Regions from separate parts of the Homo sapiens genome. Here region 1 is linked to region 2. The links are contacts of gene promoters, found by promoter capture Hi-C in human tissues and cell types (Jung and others, 2019). All regions are on one chromosome and are shown on one strand. Each heading gives the region's core, a stretch centred on a gene start or on the middle of the fragment in contact. The rest is flanking DNA. Distances are from core to core; before and after follow the strand shown.

What was found. The method cuts DNA at HindIII sites, captures the fragments that hold promoters and counts their contacts. A contact is called where the count stands out against the background at its distance.
Region 1: the fragment with the promoter of KRTAP9-7 here is called in contact with a fragment that was not itself captured in region 2 in 2 of the 25 tissues and cell types used here (IMR-90 fibroblasts and pancreas).

What each region holds. Positions count from the first base shown.
Region 1 is chr17:41,274,256-41,277,258 of GRCh38, forward strand. It overlaps KRTAP9-7 (keratin associated protein 9-7), which reads left to right and starts at 1,443. Exons shown (of 1, transcript NM_001277332.1): 1 at 1,443-1,952. The coding sequence starts at 1,443. The coding sequence ends at 1,952. The HindIII fragment of the contact is 10,836 bases long and covers 1-3,003 here.
Region 2 is chr17:41,214,178-41,217,438 of GRCh38, forward strand. No RefSeq gene overlaps it. Among named protein-coding and RNA genes, the nearest start is that of KRTAP9-2, 11 kb to the right of the region's middle. The HindIII fragment of the contact is 7,634 bases long and covers 1-3,261 here.

The DNA of each region.
Region 1 (3,003 bases), core at 193-2,692, 60 kb after region 2:
AACACCTTAAATCCAGACTGCTAGCCTTCAGAACTGCAAGAATATAAATTTAAGCCACTTGGTTTGTAGTGGTTTATCACAGCAGTGCTAGTAAATTAGTATGTTCAGTAAATCTCCTGAGCTACAGATACATTCTCCTACATGCCATGAAAACAGGATAATTACCCCTCACCAAAAAGGAACTCTTTTCTCTGCCTTCTGATCTGCTGACATGAAGAGTGCAAAATGACTAGGCAATAATTATTACCTCTGATTATGCAAAAGAAATAGAGAAGCAAATATTATAATTTTTATTCACACGAAGTAAAAAAGGAATAGCCAAATTGACCTACAGGGTTGCAACTTGATAGAGTGATTAGTGGTTTTTTGGGATGAGTAAAGGAATATAATTTAAAGGGAATGGGATTAATTTCTATTTCCTAACCTGGTAATGGGGACATAGCTTTATTTACAAAGTTATAACAAGTTGGAAATTAATAATTTGCATTCTTCTGAAATGAATGGTATACCTAAAAAATGTTTTAATATGTTAGAACTCCAAGACGAATCAGCTATCATCTCAACTCATCTAATTTCTTCATTAAAAAGAAATGGAGAAAGATAGAGAAAAGAAATGGCACTGACTATGCTACTACCAGAGTTAGGGCTAGAGCCACAGCTCATGCTGGCTTGCCTGAGTCTAAAGCACTTATGTTACACAAAGTCCCACATTTTCATTATGGTAAGCCCCTCTCTCCCAGACAAATCAGAATGAATGGTCAACCCAGGGCAAAGATTGCCTGATGCTATCTAAATCCCACTGGACTTCTCCTCGTACCCACCTGCTCTGGTTCTGCTCTGACACATAGAACACACTGTACCAATCACCCTTTTCCCAAGTGACTTTGATGGAGGTGAAAGACACAGGTGGTGTGGGTTGTACAGAGAGAGATGCCTGTTAGTCTTGAAACAGATTTTGGTGGGTGAACAGTCTTGAACATAGGCATGGATTCATTTTGTCTTTGTGACCATATCAGAATCATGATTCTCCCCACAGACACTTGCCAACCTACATACAACCAAAGAATGAGGCTGGGTAGAGAGAACTTCCTGAGCCTCCCTGGTCACCAGGAACTATCACATCACCAGAAGATGGTCAGAGCAGGAACAATGCTGATGATGAGACGGGCTTCCTTTTATCTGAAATAGTTTCTATGAGTAATCCACAATTAAGCAACAGATTAAACCCTTACTTTCAAAAGATTTATAACCTTTAGAAAACAACTTCCCCTTTGACAATACCAAAATGACTGTGGAAAACAACATAAACAGCAACAAGGAAAAGTCCTGCTGATTGGTGGAAACTTTGGAGGCCAGTTGTATAAAAGGTCCAGAGGGCAAGGGGTCATCAGATCCTGGGAAATTCACCTCTGAACAGAAGTCCACCCTCCACCCCTGACACCATGACCCACTGTTGCTCCCCTTGCTGTCAGCCTACCTGCTGCAGGACCACCTGCTGGAAGCCCACCACTGTGACCACCTGCAGCAGCACACCCTGCTGCCAGCCCTCCTGCTGTGTGTCCAGCTGCTGCCAGCCTTGCTGCCACCCAACTTGCTGTCAAAACACCTGCTGCAGGACCACCTGCTGCCAGCCCACCTGTGTGACCAGCTGCTGCCAGCCTTCCTGCTGCAGCACACCCTGCTGCCAGCCCATCTGCTGTGGGTCCAGCTGCTGTGGCCAAACCAGCTGTGGGTCCAGCTGCTGCCAGCCCAGCTCCTGTGCACCCATCTACTGCAGGAGAACCTGCTACCACCCCACGAGTGTCTACCTGCCTGGTTGCCTAAACCAGAGCTGTGGCTCCAGCTGCTGCCAGCCGTGCTGCCGCCCAGCCTGCTGTGAGACTACCTGCTGCAGGACCACTTGCTTCCAGCCCACCTGTGTGACCAGCTGCTGTCAGCCTGCTTGCTGCTGATCAGTTCCGCAGAGGACCATCATCCCCATACAGTAACCCTCTGGCAAAAGATTTACCTTCTGGGGGACAAATTTACTTTCAAACTGTGATGAAAACCAACAAAGTGAACTTAGGGTGAACTTTGCTCACCCTAATTTTTATGACTTCTCTGCATGTTTAACATTTTGTGAATCAGCTTGAGTGAGGGTAGAGTACTTCATCCTGATTCTTTTTTCCTTACACCTTGTGGATCATGTGCCACCTTCATGTATTTTCAATTTGGAGTCATGGTCTCAGCTTGACTCTAAAGTCAAGAGCTTCATTCCCTTTCTCTAAGAAACTTAGGTTTTGCAACTGATCAATAATCTTCACAATCATGTTTTCATTTTCAGTGTCCTCCTCGTGGTTCTTTTATCCTTATTCCTTTCATGATCATTTTGGGTTATCTCCCTAGAAACAGGGACTCTTACCTATATGTTTCTTAATAAACTCAAAGCTGTCCTTCATCTCACATGGTGTTTTTTTTTATTTTACAGCATTCCTGATATGGGATTTACACACATATTCCATACCATACATGTTACCTAATTTGATTATAAAAACAGATGGTCATGTTTTATTACCTCTACTTTCCAGCTGAGGAAAATTTTAATGTGTGATGTTATTTAGCTAAAAATGCAGACTCAGATTTAAGGTTGGGTCTTCTCTTTCTGTCCAAGAGCACTTATATTTAACTCTCATTAAAGTAAAAATTACATTGGGACTCTACATTCGCAAGACATGCACTTAAGTTGACTCAACAATGGAGGAGTAATCTCCTGTATTTGCAGGTAACATTTGCAGATAACATTTCCATTCTTATATGGCTTCCTTCTTCTCCTGAATACATATTGGCAAGGCAAAATGAACTTAAGTTATTCCTTAAAAAATACAGATGCCATCTTTTGAGACTGTATATCTGGAATGCTCTGAAGATTCCAGAAAGAGAGAAAAGCCGCTGACTGGGATAGTCGTTGGGTGGTGGGGTAAAGGAGAACTAGCACATTCTCATGACCAACATCAGTTATATAAG
Region 2 (3,261 bases), core at 394-2,893:
CCTCGGCCTCCCAAAGTGTTGGGATTACAGCCATGAGCCACCACACCCGGCCCTTATTAGATCTTTACAATGATAAATATCATTTTGTTTCAAATTAATACTCACTTTTGTGACTTTCCATGACAACTCTGTATTATCTTCTTAGCAGAAAGGAGCATTGCTTTATTTATTTCCTAATAAAGCGTTTACTATAGTGCCTCCTGTGTTGTGTTTTGTTTTGTTTCAGTGATTGTTTTGCATCTCACATATATTATCTCATCTAAGTCACATAGAAGCCTCAAACTTGGACAGAACCAAGATGAGTAAAGTGGCCTGCATCGTGTCATGTAGCTAAGGATGGACAGAATTGGCTCTAGGCTCAGGGTTTCTGATTTCACCTCTACTGATGTCACATTTACAGAATTATACTAAGGACTTAGAACCGGGAAGGGGTGCACTCGAAGTTGTTCTCTGACAATGGAAACACCAATTCCACGCATTTGCAGACCATTTTCTACTAACAAAGTTCTTTCCAAATTCATTCCCCTAACCAATAGCCACATCTTAAGAGCAACAACTCGTTTTAAGAGCCCTCGTGAATCATGTGAACATTTTATATTCTCAGTCTCTTGTCAGGCACTGGTGAAGTTCTTTAAATATTTTTGAGCACCCATTGTGTTCCTGCCTCTGTCCTGGGACTTTGGTGTGAGAGGCTCATCTAGAAATACTTGTTTGTTGAAATAATGGAATTGGCATTCTGTTTGTCCTCATTCTTCTGGTCACCTAAATAAATGGTAATAGAAGATTAAGTCATGGCCCAAAAAACTTAGGCCACATTTCATTTGCACCCAAACTTTGAGAGATAATTTGTTTTCACATCAAAACTTTTTATTCCTGGCTTACTGTTTTTTTATTGTGGTAAAATACACATAAAATTTACAATTATAATCTTTATTTATTTATTTATTTTTGAGATGGAATTTTGCTCTGTCACCCAGGCTGGAGTGCAGTGGCACGTTCTCAGCTCACTGCAACCTCCGCCTTCCAGGTTCGAGCGATCCTCCTGCCTCAGCCTCCCGAGTAGCTGGGACTACAGGCATGTGCCACCATGCCTGGTTAATTTTTTGTAGTTTTAGTAGAGATGGGGTTTCACTATGTTGGCCAGATTGGTCTCAAATACCTTACCTCGTGATCCACCTGCCTCAGCCTCTCAAAGTGTTGGGATTACAGGTGTGAGCCACCGTGCCCAACCACAATTATAATCATTTTTACATATACAGTTCAGTGGAAGTAAGTACACTCATGTTGTTAGACAACCATCATCTGTCTCCAGAAATTTTAAAAAATTTTTTAAATTATTTATTTTTTATTTTATCAACTTTTATTTTAAGTTCTGGGATACGTGTGCAGGATGTGCAGGTTTGTTACATAGGTAAATGTGCCATGGTGGTTTGCTACACAGATCAACCCATCACCCAAGTATTAAGCCCAGAACCCATTAACTGTTCTTCCTGATGCCCTCCCTCTCATTGCCTGCAACAGGCCCCAGTATGTGTTGTTCTCCCACCCCAACGTTTGTCCATGTGTTCCCATCATTCAGCTCCCACTTATAAATGAAAACATGTCATTTTGGTTTTCTGTTCCTGTGTTAGTTTGCTGAGAATAACAGCTTCTAGCTCCATCCATGTCCCTACAAAGGACATGATCCAGTTCCTTTTTATGGCTGCATAGTATTCCATTGTGTACATGTATCATATTTTCTTTATCCAGTCTACTCTTGATGGGCATTTGGGTTGGTTCCATGTCTTTGCTATTGTGAGTAGTGCTGCAGTGAACATATGCATGCATGTATCTTTATGATAGAATGATTTCTATTCCTTTGGGTATATATCCAGTAAAGGGATTGCTGAATCAAATGGTATTTCTGGGGATGGTGCTATCTGGTCCAGCTACTATGCTTTTCTATGGTCTTCACAACTCACAGACCAGGAGATTCCCTCGGGTGCCTACACCACCACGGCCCTGGGCTTCAAGCACAAAACTGGGTGGCTGTTTGGGCAAACACCAAGCTAGCTGTAGGAGTTTTGTGTTTTTGTTTTGCTTTGTTGTTGTTGTTGTTGTTTTCATATCCTAGTGGTGCCTGGAATGCCAGCGGCACAAAACTGTTCACTACCCTGGAAAGGGGCTGAAGCCAGGGAGCCGAGTGGTCTTGTTCAGCAGATCCCACCCCCAAGGCACCCAACAAGCTAAAATTCACTGGCTTGAAATTCTCGCTGGCAGCACAGCAGTCTGAAGTCGACCTGGGACACTCGAGCTTGGTGCGGGGAGGGGCGCCCACCACTGCCAAAGCTTGAGTAGGCAGTTTTCCCCTCACAGTGTAAACAAAGTTGCCGGGAATTTCGAACTGGGTGCGGAACCACCTCAGCACAGCAAAGCCACTGTGGCCAGACTGCCGCTCTATATTCCTCCTGTCTCGGGAGGTCATCTCTGAAAGAAAGGCAGCAGCCCCATTCAGGGGCTTACAGATAAAACTCCCATCTCCCTGGGACAGAGCACCTGTGGGGTGGGGCAGCTGTGGGCACAGCTTCAGCAGCAGACTCAAACGTTCCTGCCTGCGGGCTCTGAAGAGATCGACTGTTCTCCCAGCACAGCGCTCAAGCTCTGCTAAGGGACAGACTGCCTCCTCAGGTGGGTCTCTGACCCACATGCCTCCTGACTCCTCCCAGCAGGGGTCAACAGACACCTCATAGCGGAGAGCTCCGGCTGGCATCTGGCAGGTGCCCCCTGGGACAAAGCTTCCAGAGGAAGGAGCAGGCAGCAATACCCAGGCAAACAGGGTCTGGAGTGGACCTTCAGCAAACTCCAGCAGACCTGCAGAAGAGGGGCCTGACTGTTAGAAGGAAAACTAACAAACAGAAAGCAACAGCATCAATATCAACAAAAAGGATGCCCACGCAAAAACCCAATCCAAAGGTTACCAATATCAAAGACCAAAGGTGGATAAATCCAAGAAGATGAGGAAAAACCAGCACAAGAAAAGGCTGAAAATTCCAAAAACCAGAATGCCTCTTCTCTTCCAAAGGATTACAACTCCTCACCAGCAAGGGAACAAATCTGGACAGAGAATAAGTTTGATGAATTGACAGAAGTAGGTTTCAGAAGGTGGGTAATAACAAACTCCTCTGAGCTAAAGGTGCATGTTCTAACCCAATTCAAGGAAGCCAAGAACCTTTATAAAATGTTACAGGAACTGCTAACTAGAATAATCAGTTTAGAAAAGAA